Linked DNA regions of Homo sapiens: all the other regions are linked to region 2. Evidence: promoter capture Hi-C in human tissues and cell types (Jung and others, 2019). All regions are on one chromosome and are shown on one strand. The core of a region is centred on a gene start or on the middle of the fragment in contact, and the rest is flanking DNA. Distances in the headings are between cores, read along the strand shown.

The links. The method cuts DNA at HindIII sites, captures the fragments that hold promoters and counts their contacts. A contact is called where the count stands out against the background at its distance.
Region 1: a contact is called between a fragment that was not itself captured here and the fragment with the promoter of BEGAIN in region 2, in 4 of the 25 tissues and cell types used here (dorsolateral prefrontal cortex, mesendoderm cells, spleen and 1 more).
Region 3: a fragment that was not itself captured here is called in contact with the fragment with the promoter of BEGAIN in region 2 in 2 of the 25 tissues and cell types used here (dorsolateral prefrontal cortex and spleen).
Region 4: a contact is called between a fragment that was not itself captured here and the fragment with the promoter of BEGAIN in region 2, in 2 of the 25 tissues and cell types used here (mesendoderm cells and spleen).

The regions. Positions count from the first base shown.
Region 1 is chr14:100,417,921-100,423,907 of GRCh38, forward strand. All of the region lies in intron 2 of WDR25 (WD repeat domain 25), which reads left to right. Among named protein-coding and RNA genes, the nearest start is that of WDR25, 44 kb to the left of the region's middle. RefSeq lists enhancers at 1,710-2,211, 2,212-2,711. The HindIII fragment of the contact is 3,546 bases long and covers 1,375-4,920 here.
Region 2 is chr14:100,585,023-100,590,955 of GRCh38, forward strand. It overlaps BEGAIN (brain enriched guanylate kinase associated), which reads right to left and starts at 2,395. Exons shown (of 7, transcript NM_001385089.1): 1 at 2,227-2,395. The coding sequence starts at 2,268. The HindIII fragment of the contact is 7,942 bases long and covers 1-5,933 here.
Region 3 is chr14:100,443,150-100,449,734 of GRCh38, forward strand. The region is part of intron 2 of WDR25 (WD repeat domain 25); the gene reads left to right. Among named protein-coding and RNA genes, the nearest start is that of WDR25, 70 kb to the left of the region's middle. RefSeq lists an enhancer at 4,309-4,809. The HindIII fragment of the contact is 5,305 bases long and covers 1,110-6,414 here.
Region 4 is chr14:100,401,280-100,407,408 of GRCh38, forward strand. All of the region lies in intron 2 of WDR25 (WD repeat domain 25), which reads left to right. It overlaps LOC105370664 (a long non-coding RNA gene), which reads left to right and starts at 5,679. Exons shown (of 2, transcript XR_944204.3): 1 at 5,679-6,129. RefSeq lists an enhancer at 2,611-3,112. The HindIII fragment of the contact is 4,009 bases long and covers 950-4,958 here.

The sequences.
Region 1 (5,987 bases), core at 1,898-4,397, 170 kb before region 2:
AGGTTGTTCTTAGTTTGCTTATGTCTTTTTTTTTTTTTTGAGACGGAGGCTCGCTCTGTCGCCCAGGCTGGAGTGCAGTGGCACCATCTCAGCTCACTGTAACCTCTGCCTCCTGGGTTCAAGCAATTCTCTTGCTTCAGCCTCCTGAGTAGCTGGGATTACAGGCACCAACCACCACGCCTGGCTAATTTTTGTACTTTTAGTAGAGATGTGGTTTCACCATGTTGATCAGACTGGTTTCGAACTCCTGACCTCGTGATCCACACCCCCCACTCAGCCTCCCAAAGTGCTGGGATAACAGGCATGAGCCACTGTGCCCTGCCTTCTTACGTCTTATATCCACACTGCCTGTGATTTTGTACATGATACACACAATGTCACCTAGCACTGGCCTTTCTGACTTTCATGCAACTATTGAAAGTGAAAAATTTGGCCGGGCACCGTGGCTCATGCCTGTAATCCCAGCACTTTGGGAGGCCGAGGTGGGCGGATCACGAGGTCAAGAGATGGAGACCATCCTGGCCAACACGGTGAAACCCCTTCTCTACTAAAAATACAAAAATTAGCTGGGCGTGGTGGTGCACACCTGTACAAGTCCCAGCTACTTTTGGGAGGCTGAGGCAGGAGAATTGCTTGAACCCGGGAGGTAGAGGTTGCAGTGAGCCAAGATTGTGCCACTGCACTCTAGCCTGGCGACTGAGCGAGACTCCGTCTCAAAAAAAAAAAAAAGGTGAAAAATTTGCACAACAGCACAGTAGTGCAGCCTGCCAGTCTCAGCCACAACGGTCAGGGTCTATGCTAAGGTGAGTTTATGGGACATCCCTGGGAGTTTGGGGTGGCGGTGGCGGGGGGGGGTCCTACTCACGCCACACCTACTCCGGGAGGGACCTGGCATTGGACTCAGGTTGCCAGGCAGGGGTGTGGAGTGGTCCCTACACCCACAATTCCTGTGACTCCCATTGTCTCACCTGAGACCCTGGCCTTGAAATGATGGGCTCTAAGTAAGTTCTATTTCTAGGCCGGGCGTGGTGGCTCACGCCTGTAATCCTAGCACTTTGGGAGTCCAAGGTGGGCGATCACCTGATGTCAGGAGTTTGAGACCAGTCTGGCGAACATGGGGAAACCCCATCTCTACTAAAAATACAAAAAAAATTAGCTAGGTGTGGTGGTGCACACCTGTAATCACAGCTACTTGGGAGGCTGAGGCAGGACAATTGCTTGAACTCTGGAGGCGGAGATTGCAGTGAGCCGAGATCACGCCACTGCACTCCAGCCTGGGCGACAGAACAAGACTCCATCACAAAAAAAAAAAAAAAAAAAATTTATTTCCCGTCTCCACAGGGGTCTCTCTGCGGCTTCCTGGGGCCTCGCTCCTTCCGCCTACCTCTTTCTTCCTTCTCCTGCTGTCTACCCTGTGATGTGATAGCTTTCTCGGGGAGTGTTCAGATGAACAGTGTTTAGAATTGTTGAATGCTCTGTTGGAAAACAGAAAAGGCTATTTCATGAGCAGATGATGACCTTATTAACTATAATTAGGCAATTCACAGAGGCTTCCAATATAGTCCAGCATCTTTTCTTGTTGAGATGGGGGGAAAATTCTATGGTAATGTCTTTGGAGATGTAATAGTCTTTATCACATTACTAGTTTAAATTATTCTAGAAGTTTTGGCAGCCTGGTGTTTTCATTTAGAAAGCCGAGGTATAGTTTTACAGTTAGCCACATTAATATAATAATTATAATTTTGAGCAAGTAATTTCAGACACTGACATCAAGAGTTGTTTTTATAGCAGAGAAAGATCACAGGTAGGAAGGTGGAACCTCGCGTCTAATCTATCTAATCTGTCACAAATAGGATGATGTTGTGAACACAGGCAGTTCATGCCCCTGGCCCATGCTTTATATTATGGGACAGAGATGCAAATGCTTAGAAACTCCCCCTGTATTAAATCCCCAGAGAACACGCACATTTGAAATTAATGGGAAATTGTCTTTTCTAAAGAATTTGGTATGCAGGGGCACATGATGTGGAATTTCCCCTGGGTTCTTTGTATCAGGTTGCCCCATTGCCTTGGGCTTGTGTGAGAGTGGACCTGGGAGTGAACGGGTGCTCGCAGGGCCCACCTGGTGGTCAGTCTGTAACTGTGGCTATGAGCAGCCTCCCACCCTGTAGGCCCCTCACAAGGCCTAGTTGCCTGGATCTCCAGGGGCATCTGGAAGCCTGGAAGCTACTGTCTCCTGGGCAAGGAGGCCTTCACTGCCTCCACAGCCCCCATCTGCACATGGGCCGCAGGCCCTGGCAACCCCTTCCCCCACTTCCCTCCACTGGCTTGGACCTCCAGGCCCACAGCAAGTAACTTTTGGTTTGTGTTTTACCTTTCACTTGTAAGCACATTTTTTTTTTATCGTTCTATAGGGATTTTTCATATATCATTTTGGATCCTGTTTTTAAAGCTCAGTATCCCTGTTTTTACAGCCTTCAGGATAGTCATCTTCTATCATGTGGTTGTACCACAATTTGCTAGTTGTATCCCTGTTGCTGAACATTGAGCTTTTTATTCCAGCAGGTTTTTTATTGTTGTTTTATAGGCAGTGCTGCAGTGATCATCTTTATGTACATAATATTTAGCTTCTGTGCAGTTAGTTTCTTAGACTCTATTGCTAGGGTTGGAATTGCTAGCCAAGACTAAGAATAACTTTTTAAAAATATATTAAAATCTTCTTATAGTAATAATATTTGAAGAACAGAAAAAGGTAGAAAAAGGAAAATAAAGATGCCCAGCTGTCCCATGATGTGGTGTTCACCACTGTATTAGCTAGGAGTGTATGAGGCTGCAGATAACAGGAAACCCAACTCGAGTGGCTTCAACAGGTGGAGAGAGACTCGTTTGTCTCAGGGAACAGGAGACTTGAGAGAGAGTCCAGGGCTGGACCCAGGTGAAGCCATGCTGTGAGCGACCCTGGCTGTTTGCATCTTTCTGTCCCACTGTCCTGGATGTTGCTGGCCTTTGTCTATGCTATGCTTTCCTCATCTCAGTCTTCCTTTCTTACCTCTGGCTGGATGAGTCTTTTTATTTCTGTCTGCTGAAACAGTGTATCTCCTGCATTTGGGTCATTATAAGAAGAAATATGATTATTTTTCCTGCATGTCCCTCGTCTGCAACTGCCTGTGTTTGTGACATTCCATTCGGCCAAAACTGGAATTTTAACAGTGTCCAGACAGAGAAGAGGAAGAGTAGGCATCAGGACTAGGAAAGAGCTCCTCTTTCTTATTAATGGGATAGTCTTTCATCCCTGTGTTTCAAGTTCACAGAGTCCCTTGGGTTAGAAAATATCCTTTGCTCTCTCCTTGATTCCTATGAACCAGAGAAGGGGACAGAATCTTCCTGGGCTTATTGGTCCCCCAGTCAGTCTTGCAAAGGGAGGTTTATTGAGCACTTACCATATGCAGCAGGGGGTTGTGAGCCACAGTCGTGGCCTTTGGGAAGCTCACAGAAGAGGGGAGGAAGCAGGCTGACTTACCCCTGCCCTATCACACTGTTACCCTTGTGTCAACCAAGCTTAACCTTGGCTGAGTAGAAATGAGTGATTTGTGACCTATGTTAATCCTACAGAAAAGAACAAAAAAATAAAATAAACTTCCATAGATGCACCACCAGGTTTTAGTTATTAGCATTTTTCCGTATTTATACTGGGTACCTCTTTTTTGTTTTGTAAGGAATGAAATATGGCAGATAGAGCTAAAACCCTACTTCATTCCCTTTCCATTAGTGGCCACTCCCCTGACGTTGGTGGGCATGCTTTTAAATGTTTCCTGCATATGTTATGAATGACATAAATAATATGTAATACTTTTGTATTTTAAAGGTTTATGTACATGTTATTACACTCTGTGGTTTTTTGCAATTTGCAAAACAGTCAACATTATGTTTTCTGTTATCTCTCTATCCATCCATCCATCTATCCATCTGGTTCATTCAATTTTCATTGGTGTGTGGGATTCCACTGTATAAATAAGCTCAAGTTTATTTACTCATTCTCCTACTCCTGGAAGGTTGTTTTTACTTTTTGTCTCTTGCATACAATATTGTAGTGAACATGTGTTCCAGTTTTTTATTGCTGTTTAATAAGCCACCTCTAAACTTAGTAGCTTAAAACAATAATGTTTATTTTGCTTCTGAATCTGCAGTTTGGGCAGGGCTTGGTGTGGGCAGCTCATCTCTGCTCCACTTGGTATCATGTGGGGCAGCTCAAAGGCTAGAAATGGAAGCATCTGCAGGTCTGTTCGCTCAGCATCCGATGAGTGATTCTGGCTGTCTGCTGGGACCCTGGCTGTGCTGTTTGCTGGAGTATTACATGTGGCCTCTCCATGTGGTCTGGGCTTCCTCATCCCATGGCAGCTGGGTTCTAGGGGCTAGTGTTCTGAGAGGCCCCTATACTGAAACCAGATTGCTCTGTGACCCAGCCTCAAAGGCAGGCAGCATCTGTTGACTTCATTCTGTTCTTTGGAAGCAAGTCACTGAGGCTGCCTCCCATTCAGGGCAAGGGAGATTGGACTCCACCTTCAATGGGACGAGCCTCACAGAGTTGGTAGACCTGTTTTCATACTGGCATTTATAGATGTACATCCTTGTACACCCCTGTGAAAGCTTCTGGGGCTGGGACCCCTCATGGTGACTTGACGGGCCTTCATGATGGCCCTCTTTGACGCGACCACATGTTGCCAGCTTCCCCTCCTGAGTATTTGTTCCGTGGACGCCCACCAGCGTACTGAGCGTTCCCATTTCTTCACACCCTCTCCATCATTTGCTGTTAGGGATTTTGATTTTTTGCCCCTCTGGTGGGTGTGAAATAGGATCTTATTGTTTTAATTTGCCTGCCCACTGGCGAGGCCAGGCCCTGTGCTCCATCCTGGGGGTGGTGTTTTATTTCCTTTCCCAGCTGGGTGCCCTAAAGAAGACAGAAACGTCAAAGTGCTATTTTTTGGCTTATGATGTCAATTTTTCAGGATTGAAGTGGCGAGCGTCCCACAGAGTTTATTGCAAACTATTATGAAGGTCTTGGAGTTACTGTTGGTATGACTCATTTATGAAAAAAATATGATTTCAGTAACTGCAGGCTGTATTTGTAATGTGATAGATTTTCATTTAATCTCTCACCTCTCTATAATTTGCCCAATTTAAAAATGCCCTGAAGCTTGCTTTCTCTTTGTCTGGGAGCCCTGTTCTTGGTATGTGTTATTACAATAATAGTAATAAGAAATTGTGCCAATATGTGTCTCTCTTCCAGCTCTTGCTGTCTCCTTGGTCATTTAATTACTTCTGGTACTGATTTCCCCCAGCCTGATCTCCCCTGTTATAATAGCGTGTGCATGAAGCTTCTGTGGAGAATGCCACTGAGGATGGAAGCTGTCGGTGGTTGGCAGGCCCCAGTGTGGGCATACCTGGACCCACGGGCTGGCTGTGGGCTTCCTCCTTGGGCCACATAGCACCCAATTAGTCAGACACACCTTATTCCGATCGTACTGTGAGGTTGTAGAGGAAAGTCCCTTCAGATCCTGGCACAAAGGCTGGCATTGGGGAGTGTTTAGGAAACGTGTTGAACCAAATAATTCAAAATGTTCGGTTATTATAATTATCAAGGTAACCTGCTGACGTCACTCAAAAACATCTGGAAAATAGCCATGTCAGATCAAGAATTTTATGATGAATTTCCTCGAAAACGGAACTTTTGACTACTTTTAATTTAATCTGGTTCCATCTGAACACTCTGAACACTATTTGCAGCGTGCTGGAGAACATTATCTTCTCTGCTTCCCTCCTAAGGGGTGTTTGGATTCTTATCTGTGTTGAGAACCAGAGCCTGTGCTGCGGAAATGAGATCTTGTCTGTGCACTGAGTCAGCCCAGGTCTTTTGCAGGCACTCAGGAAGCAGCATCTACATCTTGAGGGGCTACTTTTCTGGATTGTGTGGGTGCAGCGTGTCCTGA
Region 2 (5,933 bases), core at 1,145-3,644:
CTACACTCTCCCCATCACCTTCAGGCCTTGGGCCAGGCTCCTGTAACACACCTTGACCCCTTCATCTGTTCAGCAACTACTCAGCCCTTGGACCCCACCTCCTGGGACCCTGGGTAATGATTTGTGGACTGTGTCCAATAGCCATGGACTCATGGGCTTCAGTCAATCCCTCCCATCCATCCATCCATCCATCCATCCATCCATCCATCCCTCCCTCCCTCCCTCCCTCCCATCCATCCATCCATCCATCCCATCCATCCATCCCTCCCATCCCTCCCATCCATCCCTCCTTCCCTCCCTCCCATCCATCCCTCCCTCCCTCCCTCCCATCCATCCATCCCTCCCTCCCTCCCTCCCATCCATCCATCCCTCCCATCCATCCCTCCCTCCCTCCCATCCATCCATCCATCCATCCATCCATCCATCCATCCATCCATTCATCCATCCATCCACTCTTCAGCATCAGGAGTGCCTGCAGGAGTAGGGAAGCTCCTTCAAAGTGTTGCCGTGGAGATGATGCGTGGAAATGCTGATCCAGGGCCCAGTACATAGCAGGCGTTCCATAAATGGCAGCTATGTGGGCCAGACCCTGCGCCCAAGTCTTGGGAGAGTGGATGGAAGATCTTCCAGATTGCTTAGGGCTCATTTCCTCTCTCCAGGCCTGGGCTCTGACAGGTGTCCCCCTACTCCACCCCAGCGCATGGAAAACTCATCCTCCAGGCTGAGGTTCTAGGCAGCCCTCCCCTCCCCACTCAGCTCCCAGGTGCGAACAGCTCCAGGTTTTGACGACAAACGGAACGCGGAGCCTTGGAATCTATAAATATGAGACAAAAGCTGGGGAGGGCCCTTGGCGGCAGCGCAGCCGCCCATCGCCCAGAGCCCGTGTGCTGAGCCCGGGCAGAGCCGCATCTGCCACAGTGCTTGCTTTTCCAAGCTGCCCTGATTATAGTGAGAGTCGGGAAAATTAAGGGTTTGCAGGATGCTGCTGGGGCCCTCTCTGCCGTCTCCCCGCCCTGCGTGTCACAGATGCCAGGCAGAGCCACCCCCAACGGCCAGTTGCCCCTGCTGGCAAGACCAAGGCCAGCCTGGCAGGGCTGCACACCGCAGTTTGTTAGGGGCTTCTGCCCACAGTCCTCGTGGGAGCCTGGCCCTGGGAGTAGTGGGGGTCTCTGCTGCTCTTGGCAGGCAGAGGAACTAGGGTCCAGAGAAGGAAAAGAACCTGTCCATGGCCTCCAGAGAGCCAGAGCACTGGGGCCTCCGACGGAGCCTGGCTGTGGAGACCCCGCCCCACCCATACCCCCAGGGCCTGGACCCCCAGTCTGCACTGGCGGCCGACCTTGGCCATGCGGACTTTGCACGTGCAGTGCTCCCTATCCATCCGGCCCCGCTCCCGGGTGCCCACTCTGCTCCCATTCTGCCGGCTCAGGAGACTCCAGCGCGTCGCCCACGCTGTTCCTGCCCTGAGGAAACCACATTGGGGATGGGGTGGGGCACAGACGAGGAAGGAAACACCTCTAAACCAAGCAGGAAGCGGAAACGCTGGGGCAGAAATTCCCATCCAACGTGCTGGGGCTCAGGGAGGGTGAGCGCGCCGGCTGAGCCGCTCTGGGCGAGGCCCTGGCCTCCCTGAGCCTCAGTTTCCTCGCCTGTAAAGGGGCAGGAGGATAGTACCTGCCGCGAGGTACTGAATGGGATGGTGGTGTCCGAGGTTCGTGCGCGCCCACGCGCTGCAAACGCTCAATGAGGCGGCCCCGGGTCCAGCCTCCTTCCGGCTCCCGGGCCTTTCTCCGGCCTCCCAAGCAGGGGCTGGCCCTGCCCCCAGACGCAGGCGGGTCCAGGCCTGCCCGCACCCTCGCCACCCGCCCGGGACAGCGGCGGGTCCCCAGTCCTCCGGCCGCGCCCTTGGTCACCCGTCCCTCCTTTCCTTCCGCCGCAGGGGCGCGCGTGTCAGGGCGCAAGGACCCCGCGATAGGACCCGGGCGCTCCCGGCGGCGCGCGGAGGCTGGGCATCCCCGCCCCACCCGAGAGTGCCCAGTTCCCAGGAGACCCGGCCCGGCTCCTCCCGGGCCAGTGAAGCCTCCACGGCGGGGGCGCAGCGCGGAGGGGAGCGGGGCGGGGGGCCGGCCACCTCCCGCGCTGAGCAGGGACCGCCCCAGGCGTGGGTGGCGCCCGCCCCGCCTCCGCGCCCGCGCCCGCGCCCTGCCCTCCCGGCTCGCAGGTACTCACCGCCCGGCGCAGCCGGCCCGGCCGGCGACCGCCAGTCCACATGGCCCCAGGGCAGCCGCGCCGCTCACCGCCGCCGCCGCTACCGCCGCCCCCTCCCCTCCGAGGCCGAGCGCGCCGGGAGCCGGCGCGGCCGGGGCTCCCCCACCCCGCCCGGCTTCCCGCAGGGAGCGCCCGCCCCCCGCCCCCAGCCCGGCTCCCCGCCAGCCCCGGCCCCGCGCAGCCGCGGCTGAGCCCGCGCGTCCTCCCGGCAGCGCCCGGCCGGGGCGCAAGTGGTGGGCGCAGGGCCGGGCAGGGGCGCGGGGGTGCGGCGTGCGCGGGGGCCAGGCGAGGAATGGCAGAGGGGCAGGGAATGAATGAACCCGCGCCAGCTTGAATGGCTGAGCGCGTGAATGAATGAGTGCGGTAGAGCATGCGGGGCTGGGGGGGCGGGGGGAATGAATAAATGAGAGAACTAATGCACGGGCGCGAAGGTGAGTGACAGAGTGAATGGGCCCTTGAAACCCAGAGGCTGTCAGTAATGACCTGCCCAACCTTTTCATCGGTCCATCCATTCAATCCCTCAACATTTATTAGACACCTAGTGTGTACCAACCAGCCCTGCTGTAGGCCCCAGGGGGTACAGTAGCGAGTGAAACCAAGCTCCTGCCCTCGCAGAGTCACATTTTACAGATGAGGAAACCCTGGCTCCCAAGGGTGCCTCCTGGCCAAGCTGCCCCTTACCCTGCCCTTGCTCTGCCCGAGCCCCCAGTCGGTGGCTTCCAGGGCTTGCCTTCTCCCCAAGGAGCTCTCAGGAAGGGAAGGTGGCTTCAGGAGGACCAGTGTTGCCCCCTGCCTATCCCTCCAGTCTGAAGCATCCCACCGACCTGCCCGGTAGAGCCCAGGCTGGCCAGTCCTACCCTGGTAAAGGTGCAGCGTGAACCCTCCTCTCTCCTCCCAGAGCGGGCAAGGGGCAGCCCTGAGGGTGCCAGCTACATGAGGGTCTTCCATCCCAGCCAGCCCAGCAGCAGCCAGCGTGGGAACCCGGGGAGGAGCACTGGCAGCCAGGGAGGGTCCTGCGTGGTGGAAACAGAGCTGGCAAAGCCCGTGTGCTTCGCTCATATCCTCCCTCGGGACCTATGGGCTCATGGTTCACACATGCTTATATCATTTCCAAGTACATGGCAGATTAGAAGATGCTGCGAATGAGTACCTTGTATATTTTTGTTTTTTAATTGTGGAAAACATGGAAAACATAAAATTTACCATTTTAACCACTTTTAAAGTGTACAGTTTGGGGACACTGAGTTCCCACTGTTGAGCTGCCATCACCACCATCCTTATATGCTGTATGTTGTATGCTTTGCAGTTTCTACGCTCTCTCATTTAATCTGGGGAGTAGGTTGCTACATTCAGGCAGTGTCAGTGCTGAGAAAAGGCACTGATAGCAAGGCAAGAGGGGAAACCCAGAAAAAAAGGAGACAAGCAAAAGAACCAGCAGCTGACTGGAGCCACTTCGTGTCAAGCAAAGTCCTGTCTCTGCTCCCTCTCAGGTCCCAGGGACATGATTGGGTAACCAATGGACAGAGGGAGGCGCCTCCAAGTGCACCCCACCACAGTCAAGACAAAATGAGAGGCGGCAGCTCAGGGCGGGGCTCTCCCAGTTTGGGCGAAGCGTGGACAGACTTCGCCCAAACCGTCGCTGGTGTGCACCACGGGACCAGCCTCTTTGCTCAAGGGGGCCTTAGTCTCCCCAGCAGGAGTAGGGACAGGCTCCCTGACCTCCACTCTGGCCTCTCAGGTTCAGACACCATTCAGGCAGCACACAGCAGTGGAGGCATCCTGTGAGAGGTAGTGAGGCCCAGCCTGCCAGCTCCAGTGTCCCTTCCCTCCCCAGTCCCTAAGGGGACAAACACCAATGGGGGATGTGGAACCTGGGGTACAGGCAGGGCTCTGCCCACATTGCCTCCTCCTGGGCTGCGGCCCTTCCCCAGAGGCTGGTCCTGCTCAGATGGTGCCAGAATGTTCACCGCCCGCCCTGGCACTGCTGCTGCCAACGCCACAGATGGCTGGGGAGGCGGGGGAGGGGCGGGTGGGGTGGGGGCGGCTCCTGCTTCAGCTCCAGCAGCTTGCAGGCTTCAGCTCAGGCCTGCCTGGGAAGGCCCCAGGAGAGCCCCTCCCCCATGCTGCACGCACCTCCCGTCCCCACCCTCCCTGCCCTCTCTTCTATCCTTCCCACTCCAGCCCCCTTAAGCTAGGAAGGCGGAGAGAAAGCAGGCATTGGTTGTGGGTCTGGGAGCATCCCTGCAATGCCCCTGTAGGGGAAGTGGTACTAGCCCCTTTTTGCAGATGGGGAAACTACAGTCAGTGCAGCAGAGCCTGGGGCATCAGGCAGGCTTCCTGGAGGAGGCAAGGTTTCAGCCGGGTTGGGAAGAAGGGATGAAAGTGGCAGGACTTCGAGGTGATGCCCTGGGGCCATGGAGGACCCTCTCCTCAGGCCCCTGCCCTCATTCAGACCTCTACGGACCACTCTGTTTGACATCACCATCCCCATGGCTCAATCTCGTTGCCCTATTTTGTTTTTTGCGTGTCTCTTACTGCGTTCCAGAGCTATCTGATCTGTCTGTTGATGTGGACATCAATCTCCCCGCTGGGATGCGTGGTCCTCTACTGTGGTCAGGGAGCAGGGCAGGAAGTGGCACCACACTGGGGCTCATGGTTAAATGTGCCAAAGAATGCATGGATGGATGGAGGTGGGGGAGATAGGAATAGCCTGGTGTGATGCCAGGCTTCTGGCCCTGGTGGCTGAGTATAAAAGAAAGGACAGCACGTCAGGGAAGTCATTGACAGTGAGGCACCCGCAGACAGCCACATACAGGGGCTCCAGCATCAGCTAGCCATGCTGACCAGTTCCCTGCCTCATCTTCCAATCCCCACCCACAAGAACAGATTGAGCAAGGGTTCTGACTATGAGCCCTAGAGAATGGGAAGGTGAGAGGTATCTTCCCACTCTCCCACAAACAACAGGTGCTCCAACTGAAACTCTGGAGTCCCCTGCAGAATCGGGCTACAGCTGCCCTCCACAGGTGGTGAGAAGGCCCTGAATTGGCCCAAGTGTGTATCTAACAATGACCCCAACTGCAATATTAACCCAAATTCCAACCTATATCAAATGCTAAACCTAACTCTAATGGGACCCAAAACCAAAGCAAACTTTAACCCTACCCCAATGCTAGCCTGAACAGTAACATGAACCCTAAACCCGACTCTAACCCCAACACTGTCCTGCCAGAAAGCAATAACCTCAACCCACACCACACGCTAAAGTTAACCCAGACGCCAACCCAAAACCAAATCCCAAAAGGAACATTAAACCAAACCCCAACCCAGCCCTAACCCTAACACTAAACACTGCCAAAAACACCCCAAGCACTAGCCCAAATCCTAACCATAATCCCAACCCCAAACCTAAGCCTAATCCCAACCTGACCCTAACCCTAATCCCAAACCAAATCCTAACCCTAATCCTAACCCCAGCCCTAACCCTAACCGTACCCCGCTGCCCTGTTCCTTCACCTGCTTGTCCTGGGAGCAACGATGAGGGGGGCCTGGGACCGTAGGAAGCGGGCACAGGCAGCTGGGAGCCTCGTAGGTGCTCTGTCCGAGGCAGGTCCCAGGCCCAGGGGTCTGGCCCACTGCTCCTCCTGGGGTGGTGCTGTGAGCCCCTTGGC
Region 3 (6,585 bases), core at 2,512-5,011, 140 kb before region 2:
GTTTGAATATTGCTCTTCTGACTCCAAGCCTGTCTTTCCTCACCACTGCATATAACAGCCTCATTAGGTTTGTAATACGTGGCAGCTGCATGATCTGCTGGGTAAGAGACACACATTTAGAAAAATTTATGTGCCACATGCTTTTCCTTTCTTTATTTCTCTTTCCCCTGAACTGAGATAAAAAGGAGAGTCACACACAAGCAGATGTCAGAATGACTGCCTTGCTTCGCCCCATCTACTGGAAAAGCCACCGACTGAATTCTTCCTAACACCGTTTCTGTTTATGGCAGATATAGGGTGGGGGTGGGGGGCAGGGCCCTCCATTCTCTGCTTTCCGTGCTAGCCGAAGCCTTAATTCAAAAACAAATTGAGTCCTTCAGCTGTCACTCGATTGTTCCCTCTGATTTTGGGGGATAAATATCATTGCTGCAGCCTCATGTCTCCTCTCTCTCCTTTTCCCCAAAGCTTTTCCCCTTTTATTTTCTCTCTCTGCCCAGAACTCAACATATCTCTGACAAAAGCATGCATTATTTAGAGCCTGTCGCCTCTTGAAGTTCTTTAATTACAGAATTAAACCAAAGTAATGACAGTTTAATTTGTTCTTTCATTAATTGGGAGCGCTCCGGGCTGATGTGAAATGAGCGCATTTGGAAGGCATGAGGAATATGTACTGAGTGATTGGAGCATGAGTAATAATAATTGCTGTCGTTTAGTGCCGGGCGCTGGCTAGGTGCTCCTCATGCATATTCTCTGTTAATGCTCCCTGCAACCTTGAGGAGGAGATACCACCTTCTCTGTTTTGCGGCTTAGGATCTTGAGGCTCAGAGAGGTGAACCAACAGCCACCTGTCAGCCAGAGGAAGAGCCAGGCCTAGACACCAGGAGCCCAGCCCCAGAGCCTTATCCTGTCCATAGCCCCACTTGGCCTTGAGACCAGCAGCTGTGGCCTCAGGATTCTGCAAGGGGTGGCCCACAGGAAGATGGGCACACCTGGCGGGGCATGCCTGAGAAGGACTAAGTTGTGTCTGGCTGAATTTGAGGCTGAGAGGAAACATTTGAACCCGTGAAAATGGAAGGAAATTGGCGGTCAGAGGGAGCTGAAGCCTCACTGGTGCTGATGGAAATTTTGCTACTTCGAAGGTAGCAGTTTGTCCTCCCGGGAGCCCTGCAGCCACTGAGGGGCATGCCTGCGAGTGCATCCGTGCCACTTAGTTGTGGGTCAGGGAGGCTGCTGCAGGGAACCGCAGGATGGACATCTCTAAAGCATATAGTGAAGGGTAGAATCCAGGTGTATGGGGCCCCGTCAGGCCTGCTGGTCCCCCTTACCCTAGCTAAGGCCCATGCCAGAGCTGCTACCTTTCCATGGACACGTCTGGGTCCAGGTGACTTCCTTCTTGCACTGGCCCCAGGCCCCAGGCCCCAGGCCCCACCGTACCTGGCAGATGAAGTGCCTCTGATGCCCCTCCGTGGCCTGCAGAAGTTCTGGGTTGGGCCTTTGGTTTCAGGCCCCTGGGACTATACAGAGGGTGGATGGTTGGTGCATTCACAGTACTAGTGGCTCATCTGGAGGGCTGTGTCTAGAAGGAGGCAGCGGCGAAACAGCTCATCGTCCTCCTCACGTCCTTAGGGACTTGAGCCTGGTGTGTACCGACACTGCGCTCTCTTGGCAGCAGGCAGTGAGGGACAGGAGAAGAACCAAAGTTGATAGTGCCTTCTGTGGCACCTTCTACTTCGTCACTTTAATTCCCTTTAAGCTTCCCCACCACTCTGGAAAGTGGGAAGATTAGCCCCGTTTTCTAGCTGTTGAAATGAAAGCTCAGAGACAATGGTCATTTACCCAGGCCACATGGATTGAAGGGGCAGAACAGAGTTAGGATTCAGGGGTGTCTGACCCTGAAGTCCCCCATGGAACTGGGCCTCTGTGTTCTTGCTGTCACCCCATATCCCCACCAGGCACCCTCTCACTCACTCTGTTCACATCTCCCAGCAACCTCAGAGTTTTACCCTATGAGTTCTCAGACAAAACTTTAGAATTTATTATCAATGCATTTCTCTGCAGCAAAGTCTGGATGAATTTAAGATTAGGGGATTCGGTTACACTTTATTACTGTTTGTCATTAAAAATCATGCAAATAAGCCATGGAATAAAGTAACTTGTGTTGTTTTGGACACCAGATTTACATGTTTACTGGAAGAAAAATGATGCTGAACTCCTTCAAGGTGGTAATAAAATTTTGCCTCAGAGCCTTAGCTTTGTTGGTCTTTTTCTATAATTTACTCCACAACTTCCAAAAAATATTTTAAACTAGTTTATCATAAAACTCACACCAAGGGTTTCAAAACATCCTTTTGTAAAGGTGAAAAGAAGACTGAGAAGCTGCATAGGCTGCAGGCTGGGAGTGGAGAAGGAAAGACCTGCTGCAGCCATGTGACTCAGGGGCCTGAGAGGTGAATCAAAGCCTCCTTGTTGCCAGGGCTGAGACGGGGACAGGATGGCTTCTAGGCTTCCTGTCTTTGGATTTTAGTAGGAAGTTTCCAGGCTTTTGTTCTGAAACCCCCAGGTTGCTTCATTTAGCTTCCGACCTCCCTGTAGGAGGAGGTGGGCACAGAACGTGTTTGGAAGCGTCTGGGAGAATAAGGACCAGGCTAGAAAGAACCTTTGTTCTACCCTGACTCAGGCATCGGCCATCCTTTCAGAGCCCATTTCCACCACAGTTGGAAGAAGTAGTTGGGGTTTAGAACCCTGTGATTCCAACCCATGCTGCCCCTCCAAGAAGACACGGGGCGAGGCCCGGCCATACCAGTGTTGAGGTAAAGGATCTGAGGCTGGCCATCCTGGTAGATGAAAAGAGGGTTCAACCCAGGATGACCCCAAGCCTTTGGGTTAACTGCTGAGTTTGGTGTTTGCCCCAGATATTATACCCCCTGACTGTTTCAGTGCTGTGCTCCACCTTCCTCCTGGCGTGGTGGGGAAGGGTAGCCATGAAGCTCAGTTGGAGTATAGAGGAGGAGCCTTCTGGCTTTGTGAGCTCCTGCCCCTGGGGTCCTGCGGTGGTGGTCACAAGTGACACAGAGCCATGACAAGTAGCATTGTTGATGTTGATGATCAGAATTAGTAAAAATGGGCTGGTCGTGGTGGCTCATGCCTGTAATCCTAGCACTTTGGGAGGCCAAGGCAGGTGGATCACTTGAGGTCAGGAGTTTGAGACCAGCCTGGCCCACATGGTTAGGCCATCTACTAAAAATACAAAAATTAGCCAGGCATGGTGGTGGGTGCCTGTAATCCCAGCTACTTGGGAGGCTGTGGCAGGAGAATCACTTGAACCTGGGAGGCAGAGGTTGCAGTGAGCTGAGATCATGCCACTGCACTCTAGCCTGGGTGACAGAGGAAGACTCCATCTCAAAAAAAAAAAAAAAAAAAAAGTAAAAATGTATAAATCACAACACATGGTAAGTAACACAATACCAATCATAATTCACTTCAAAAACAGCAGCTTGAAATTAATCAGCAGTTGTGTTGTTTCTTAGAAATATCAGAAGCCACACGCTGTGTCTGAAAGCTTGTGAGTAAGAATGAGGAGGAGTGACAGGCAGATCAGCCAACGATAGAGGGGCTTCTGTGATCTGGGCAGGTGTCGCTGGTCACTCCTGGCTCTGTGGGCGTGGTTATGTCCTAACCCTGTGAGTTCTTGCTGCTGTCAGCACCGCATGGATGCAGGGATTCCTGGCTGTTAGTTACATGGCCAAGCAGCTTCTGAAAATTATCGTCTGTGGCCACAGAAATCCTTGACTAAGTGCTACGGAGTCATCATTATTATCCCATCACATGATTCTTCTTAATCCTTTAGAATCACTTGTTAAACTTTAATAGGTAAGATAATTTCATGCTCATTGAAGTAATGTAATTATACAGACTAATTCAACGCTATTAGAAAATTTCTGGGCTCCATTTATAATAACAGCTAATGCATTCTAAGTACAGTTTGTTAGGGAACCTTGCATATTCAACCCAAAAGAACCCCAGGTTTGCGCGTGAGCTTGGATGCTGAGCAGTGTTGAGTGAACTGGAGCCTACTGGAAGCTGTTCCATTTGTCCTTAGGTGACTTTTTTAGAAGTGATTAGACTTGGGGATTGTTTCTCAGAAATGGACTGGAGACCCATAAATCTACAACGATTTTAATTTTGGACACCAACCTGGAGCCCACAAAGACAACTTCCCACGAGTTAGCAGCAGTGCTGGGCAGTAGGGGGGCACGTGTGCTGAGGCGTGGGCGTGCCAGCCTTGCAGTGGAGGAGGGGCTGCTCTTTGCCACGTGTCTGCAGCTCTCTTCCGGTCTCTGGCTTGAACAGACTGGGGAGCCTGAGGTCACATTTTACTTGTCTTTTGGGAGGGAGGTTGGGGTAATCTGGGGCAAGGGGCTCAGCCAGCTGCCACCCAGACTTGAGTGCTCTGTTTGGTGGCACCAGACATGGTGAGGTGGGTGGTATTGAGCAGGGTGGGGGAGGCAGCAAAAGCCAGGCCTACAGAATTACACTTCTGTGGCCTAATGATTTTCAAAAACCATTTGCGAGATTGAGGTAATGTATTTCCCAGACTTAAGCAATTTACTCCTTCCCACCGTGCTGAATCAGGCTGTTAAATCCTCTTGCTGTGTGCGTAGAGCTATTGGCACCAGGGAAAAATGGTCAAGTTCAAGGCCCCTGCCAAATCTGTGCTCTTTTCTTTGGAAAGTGATGAGTAACTGCACTTTAAAAAAAAATGGGCTGGGCGTGGTGGCTCACGCCTGTAATCCCAGCACTTTGGGAGGCCGAGGTGGGTGAATCACCTGAGGTCGGGAGTTCGAGACCAGCCTGACCAACATGGAGAAACCTTGTCTCTGCTGAAAATACAAAAAATTAGCCAGGCGTGGTGGCATTTGCCTGTAATCCCAGCTACTCTGGAGGCTGAGGCAGGAGAATCACTTGAACCAGGGAGGTGGAGGTTGTGGTGAGCCGAGATCGTGCCATTGCACTCCAGCCTGGAAAACGAGCAAAACTCCGTCTCAAAAAAAAAAAAAAAAAAAGAAGATTTTAGGAACATTGGAAAATGTTAAGTGAAGAAAGCAGGATGCCAGATTGTACATTCAGTAGGATCTCAGGAGAAACAATGTCTGCATAGAAAAATACTGTGGAAACTGCCAGCAGGTTGCAGGGCTTACCTGTGCTTGAGTGCAAGGATTAGATCCAGTGTCCCCTCTGTTCCTTTTCAGCATCTTACCCGTTGCCCAGGGTGGTGACACCTGGGCCCCAGGTGAGAAGCGCCCCAGAAAGAGAAGCACATGCATGCTGGCCGTGAGTCATGGGCCTGCTAACTTGCTTGTCCTGTAACCTTGGGCAACTTCCTTCCTACTGGGAGCCCTAGTCTCTTCATCTGTATAGTGGCCCAGTTACACTATCTCAGAGGAGTGAGGGTCACTGCCAGGACTCCGTCACCTGCGTAAACACCTGGCAATGTGGGCATGTGGCAGTCTAGATAAACCATAGCCTTGTGGTGGTGATGGGGTCATTATAAAAATGCATTGTTTCTTTCACAACCAGGAAAACATTACACATAAAAGAACAGGGCAATGACTGGAGGTGGAAAAACAACGCAGCCTACCTAGCTGCATGGAGACCTATGGGAACATCCACTGGACCTTAACTTGGCTTATGGGAGTCAGGAGGGCTTCCTGGCGGAAGGAGTGTCTCATGGGAGACAGGAGAGAAGAGTAGGAGCCAACCAGGTGGAGACAGAGGAATGTACTTCAAACAGAGAGAAGGCATATGTAAGGCTGGAGGTTCAAGGAACAGAGTGAGTTTGGGAAACGCACCTAGAAAGTGGCGTGCAAGGACGATCGTGATGGGAGATGAGGCTGGGCAGGTGAGTGGGGCCTCCGGAGTCAGCCACTGACTTTCCCACTGTAGCTGTTTACAACCCCCTAAGCCCTTGGGATGTGCTTGGCAAGATAAGGCCTTATGGCTAGAAGGCTCGGAGAGCATCCTTTACTGGGCTTCTGGATGGAATTTTTGGAGCAAAGGGTTAGTACTCATTTTTATGCAAATTGAGAAATCTTGATGAAAACGATCACTTCCATCCCAGCCCCATCAGGGAGGGCCAGGGAGAACCGTGGCTTCGATAATGGTATGGGCCTGTTGGAGCCTGGCTACAGGGCTGCCCCGGGAGGCCTCCTTTGGGAGCAGAGACAGCCTGGCACTGGCCTGTGGCGGTTGCCATGGCAGCAGGACATGAGCAACCTGACTTTCTGAGAGTGGTCACCTCTATTCCGGGGCCCTGCCCTGGCTGGCTGTTGCATTGGGGTGGGAGAGGCTGTCTCAGCTGGGTCTCTGGAAAAGCTGAGGTCAGGAGGCCTGTGCCCTGGGACATGGCTATGTATGACAGCCAGGACACTCTGCCTCCACCCAGACTGGGCCTTCAGAAGGAATTAAGTTGGAGGCCATTAAAACTAAATCAGGTGATGCTTCCAGGAGCCCCCACTCAGTAACTGCTGAGAGCATCCCTGAGTCCCTGCACGTGCATGAAGCAGACAGAGTGATTTTAACGCAGCT
Region 4 (6,129 bases), core at 1,704-4,203, 180 kb before region 2:
CTCCTCGTGGTCTCAGTCCACATCTATCCCCCTTGCACTGCCTCATTAGGCATTTCCTTGCTTATCACCTTCTCTGGTTGATTCGGGCATCTCAGACCAGTTCTGTCCATTGAGGTCTGAGTGTCGTGGAGGCTGGTCCCCTGCCTCCTCCCCGGTGTCTTAGACTTCCTTGGCAGGGGTGGCCCTGAGCACCCTGCCCATGTCCCCAGGAGGCAAGTCCTTGCCGTTCAGGGCTGCCTCAGGTTGGATCCCCTCCAGGAGGCTCCCCTGCCTGGGGATTGATCACTTCTTCCTCCCCAGTGCTTTGTACCAGCAGGTTCTGGTGGTAGTAAGAGAATTACAGAGAGAATTTGTTGGTTGACATTTTTCTTTTTTGGGCTTCTTTTTACTTTGTTTCTGATCCTAAAGGAAGAAAAACATATTCATACAGAGGAATGGAAAAGTACCAGAGAGCCTGAGAGGCAGTGGGGAGGACACTTCATCCCCTGGAACTTGCACCTGGCTTCTCTGCTCCTGGGTGGCTCTGCACGTGTCTTAGTTCTGCTCATTCTGTGTATGCAGGCACTTGCCATTTTCTCTGTGGAATTTGAGGGCTTGGATGTGATTTTTAGCATGGACACTTTGGAGGGGCTCAGTTACATTCTCCTTGGTGCACCTCCTGGGGTACAACTGGCATTAGCAGGTGCTGATGAAGGAGTAGGAAGTGCTGCAAAGCACTTTTGCTCAATCGTGCGAGGCTTTTAAAACCCAGTTATTACTGCTACTCCCATGAATGCCCATAATGGCACAGGAGGTTTTCTGAACCTTTCTTTATTGCACAAATGCTCCTGGAACAGATCTTGACAATTCAGGTGAATTATTATTCTACCCCTCAGAAGGTAAAGGGAAAGCTTTCTGTTTGTAACTTTTTCTTCCCAAGTGTCCTCTGTCAAAAGGTAGTGACATCTTCTCTCCTGATATGTGACGTCCATTATTACCTCGGTATAATCATAAAGCTCACACCCAAAAGCTTTCCATCCAGCACGTCAGAGGGACAATCTTTATTTAAGACACACTCCCCCACTTTTCTTTGTTATTGCTTTCTCCTAAAAAAAAAAAACAAAACCAAAAAATCAAAAAATTCCCTTGGCTTTAAAGGCATGATCTGGGCTAGGAGTGACTCGTTCTTTTGCAAGGTTATTGTCATAGGCAGGAACAAGACAGGTGGGACATGGGGGTGGACAGAGTGATGCGCTGTCAGCCAGGGGCCAGGGGTCCAAATGGGGTTCTGTCATTTTCCAGCTGAGCCCTCGGCAGGCCAGGCAATTTCTGGGTGTTGGTTTCCTCTCTTGGCAAACATAGAGGCTCAACTGTGTTCTCTGAGGCCCTTTTAAGCTGAGTAGTTTTGTGATCTCCAAACTAACTGTAGCTAAATGAGGTAATGAGAGAATTACAGGTGTCCCCCAAACTCTTCCTGCAGAGTAGTTGAAATGAGCATTCATGATTCTGAATCGGTTTTCTCTCCCTGTGAGCTCCAGAGGAAGTCATTAAGCAGAGAAATTACTAACACCTCGTGACCACCGTGGAGCAGAGCCAGGGGCACGAAATAAAATGCCATAGGGATGAGACCCGTGCAGCCAGCCAGCACTTAGGGAGATCTGCTAGGAGGACACCCTTAGGTTGTCCTCCTGAGGGTCCAGCCCTCTCTGAGGGGTTGACAGCTGAGCTTCATTACGTTCTTGACCCTGTCTCGCTGACCTCAGGGCTTCTGTATTAGCAGTGTCCAACAAATGGTTGTTGGGGTGAATTAAATTTTCTCTTATGGATAGTGTCCTATCCTTTCTACCAAGTAAGCTTCCTCTCGGGGAAGAGACCATTCTTCTTTATTTCTTTGAAAACTGATTTTTTAAGAATAGAAATACAAATTGGTATTTGATGTACAGAGAAAAATGAGTCGTGCTCCCATGCTCTGGATCTGGAGAGGCCACATCTGGCTCATCTCTGGATCCTAGGGAGCATCAGCCTTGCCGTGGGAAGCAAAGCGGGCCTGGGCTGCCTTGAATTAGAATGACCTGGCTGCCTTTCCAACCAAAGCACATATGGCCAAATGTTGGGAGAGTGAATTGGAGGCAAAAGCCTTTGGAATTATTGGGATCGTTGGGACTCCTGGGAAGGAACTGGGCAGATTTGTGTTTGAGCCATGGCTCTTTCTACCCTAGGTCTGGGGAAGGTCCTCTGCTTCTCCCCCACTGTTTCTTGTAAAGTGGTGCTGGCATGCTTAGCCCGCAGGGCTGTTGTGTATGGTCAGGAGATAGCAGCCCTGAGTAGTGCCCAGAGCTTAGCACAGATACAGCAACTCTGGTTCCTTTGAAGATGGAAAATGAATATGTATCATTTGGCAATGATAATGTAAAATCAGTGTGGAGGTGTGATTCCATTAATAGATTGCTGATGAACTCAACTTTTTAGGAGCCCGTTTGTTGCTTAGAGTGAAGCTGGCTGGAATGAGGCAGAATTAGAATGACAGGCCCACTCTTCTAATTGAAATGCACATGAAGTGCTTGGCCCTCAGACTTCCATCGAGATGATTGCAGTGATCAATATTCCAGTTTGCTTGGCTGGCAGCTTCCGGGGAATAAGAATGGATGATGGACCCAGGGAAAGTACTGCCAAACAGAGCATTAAGTTAATTCCTGTTTGCCTGGGTTCTGGCCTGCCTGATGAAGTGCCTTGAGTAGAATGAGGCAATGTTGGTGTGGACTTTATCATGGGCTGTACCCAGTATCACAAGAGCTCAAGGTGGCTGCTCCCTGACATTCACTTTTGGTAGCAATTAGAACTCCCATTTGCTGAGATCCTACCATGTGTCCAGCCCAGTGCTGGGCCCCATACGCACATGATTGGTCCCCCTGAAACCTCTGAGGTGCCGATGGCATGCCCCAACCTGCGTCCAAGGACCTGGGGCTGAGAGGGCCTCAGGGCACGGTGCTGCAAGGTGCGGAGCTGGGAATGGAGTCCAGGGCTGTTTGCTCCCAAAGTCTATGTTCGTTCCACTCTCCCACGCCAGCCCGTAAGTGTAAAGCAGATGTTTGGAACCTGGGTTCTCATTTTCCTGTAGAATCAGTGTTATTCATGGCAGTGAGGGCCTGGTCTCAAAAGCTGGGTTTACCACTGACAGTGTCATTTCTCATGTGGTTTTCACCTTGACCTTACCACCATGGGAGGCAGAGCGCACACCCCTCTGGTGTTCCTGGCTGGGAAACAGGGGCCCCTACCTGTGGGCTGCGTGGGCCAGGAGGGTCAGCAGGCCCTTGGGGGAAGTGCAAATGCATCCTTATCTCTGTAGTGCTTCCTCCCAGGCATAGGGTCCGCTGGAGGCCTGGCGTTCCCATGGGGCTCACTGTGTGTGCAAATGTTCTGTCCCAGTTCAGTCTGCTGACTGGGAGATGCTGACCTGACTCTGTTTCTCTAGGGCCATGATCCTGACTCTGAAATGCCAAGTATACACCCCTCCCTCCTCCTGCCTGCATTCTCCTTCTGCTGTTACATGGGGGCATGCACCCCTCTCCCCTGCAGCTCTGGCCTCTGCTGGGCCCATCCCTCCTGTGAGTGACATGGTTATTCCTTGTATCATTGTCTGAACTTGGCACTGGTGTGTTTGGGCCCTTCCTCTTAACCCTCCTACCTTGTGTCCCCATGCTAGTTCTGTCTTTCCTGTGCTCGCAGAATCTGTCTGTCCTCTTGCCCCCACCTCAGAGGCTTCTTCCAGTCTCACCCCCTCATTCTCAGAATTGAATTTTTTATCTGTGGAAGGTGGCAGCTGGCAGCCAAACCAGGAGCCTAAGTCTTGGGCAAAGCTTCAACAAGGATGCTGAGCTCAGGGGCCTAGGAATCCTCTCTCTGCCCCATCTTTTTTTTTTGAGATGGAGTTTTGCTCTTGTTACCCAGGCTGGAGTGCAATGGTATGATCTCAGCTCACCGCAGCCTCTGCCTCCCGGGTTCAAAGGATTCTCCTGCCTCAGCCTCCTGAGTAGCTGGGATTACAGGCATGCACCACCACGCCTGGCTAATTTTGTATTTTTAGTAGAGACGGGGTTTGTCCATGTAGGCCAGGCTGGTCTCCAACTCCCGACCTCAGGTGATCCACCCGCCTCAGCCTCCCAAAGTGCTGGGATTACAGGCATGAGCCACCATGCCTGGCCTCTCTGCCCCATCTTATAGGCACCCTGGGGCCTAGGATGGGGCTGGGGTGCAGGGGATGGGGAGGGAGGCTGGGCCCCCTGGAGGATCAGTAACTCTGTTATATGTCTTCACTATAATCTCATTTTGGGCTGCACTCTGCTTTTGTTTTTGTTTGGGAGCCTGCTTGGAGGCCAGCACTAACAGAAACATGCAAGGGCAGAAGCAGAGCTGGCCATCGGGAGGTGGGTGGCCTGCAGGGCCTAGCTCTGTGGCGCATGGATTGGTGTGTCAGTCGCCCTTCCTGGCAGCAGCTCTCAGTGATTAGGCTTGGAGGAGCCTTGGCTTTAAGTTCTCTTTGGGGAAGGGCGGATATTAGTGCTTAAGAAACGCCACTCCCGAGGAAACCCACCTGGATGTTTTTCTCTGTAACTGGCCATTTGGAGACAGGGCCAGGCTGTGCATAGGCTTTTGAGTTTCTCAGGTGCCTACATGGGGCTCAAAATGATGATGCAATCAATCCGTTTCTTGACTTTTGGGCCTGGGTCCAGCTCAGAATGGAGGTGTGCTCCATGGGCTTGCCTTCGGAGAAGATGGTTAGCAGGGCTGTGGGAAGGGATGTGTGGTGGACAGAGGTACAGGCTCCCCAAGGCTTAGAGGCTTCAGAAGCCCATGTCAGGCACGTGGGGCCCAGGTTCAAAGCAGAGGATGGAGAAGGGAGGGTTAAAGCCTTCCTTCTGACGTTGATATGTGTGTCTCAGCACTGGGACCTGGAGCAGTCGGCTTCGGAGGCCCGTTGGACTGTTGAATATTGATGGTGTGGGTTTGGCTGAGGAGCATAGGCAGGTGTGTTTGCCATTCTTATGTACTCAGGAGGGGTATGAAGGGCAAGTCAGTGGCACAATTCAAGCAAAGTGCTGCTGTTACTCGAGCATTTGCTGTGTGCCAGGATCTTCACACGGACAGCCTCAGTTTTCATAGGAGTCACTTTTAGGCATTTTATCTCCATTTTGCAGTTGAAGCAATTGATACTTAAGATGGTAGTATCTTTGTTTAGTGTGAAGAGCCAGGAATTGAGTGGGGAATGCCCTTATGGCAGCAAGACAGTGGCACCAAGTCCTGCCTAGGTGGCTTGTCCAATGATCAGAGTCCAAGGCCACATTGCTACCAAGTGGCAGAGCTGGAATCAGCGCTACTCAGCCTCACACATTTTGCTCCCTGTGCCTCTTCAGAACTTCGGCCTGTCACATGTGTGCAGCTGTGGGAGCCCAGATTGTGAGTTGATCAAGGTCAGGGCCACACCCTGCACTTCCTGCCTGACACAGAGTAGGTGCTGGACAGACATTTGTGTTGTGAAAGAGTGAGTGAGTGAATGAAAGACACACCATGGGGATAGAAAAATAAGGGGCAGGCCCCAGGGCGGTTGGCAGATGTGAAATGTGGTTTAAAGACTTGGCAGTAAATCTGTGGCTAGGCCCCCCTTCTCCTTTCATTCCCTTCTTCCTTCCTTCTTGGGATTCAGAATTGCTCTCTGGGCAGAGGGCTGCGGAGCAGGAGCGAGGCTGCAGGTGTGAGAAGGACCCCGCCGTGCCAGGGCAGCCTCAAGGAGCTGTTGAGCGAGTTGAGCCCAGAAGACAAAGGTCGCTGAAGTCCTTCCAGGAGAAGAAGATCAATGCCTGGGCTGAGCCTGCGGTTAACATCTTAATAGTAACCGGAGAGTTTCTGAGAGATTAGGTGATGATATATACTCAGAGCTCAGACAGTTAATTTGCATTGTGTCCTATATTCCTGAAAAGTTGCTTTCAGATTCTTATTGATGTGCTCACATTTTTTGGGGTAATTGTCCTCCTTTGACATTAATAACCCCCCTGTTTACTCTCAGGCTCACATACCTCTCAGAGTCCAGGAGGCAGTGAGGGAAAGCTTTTAATTCAAAGCCCTATCCATCTTCCCAACTCAGGTGAGATGGGG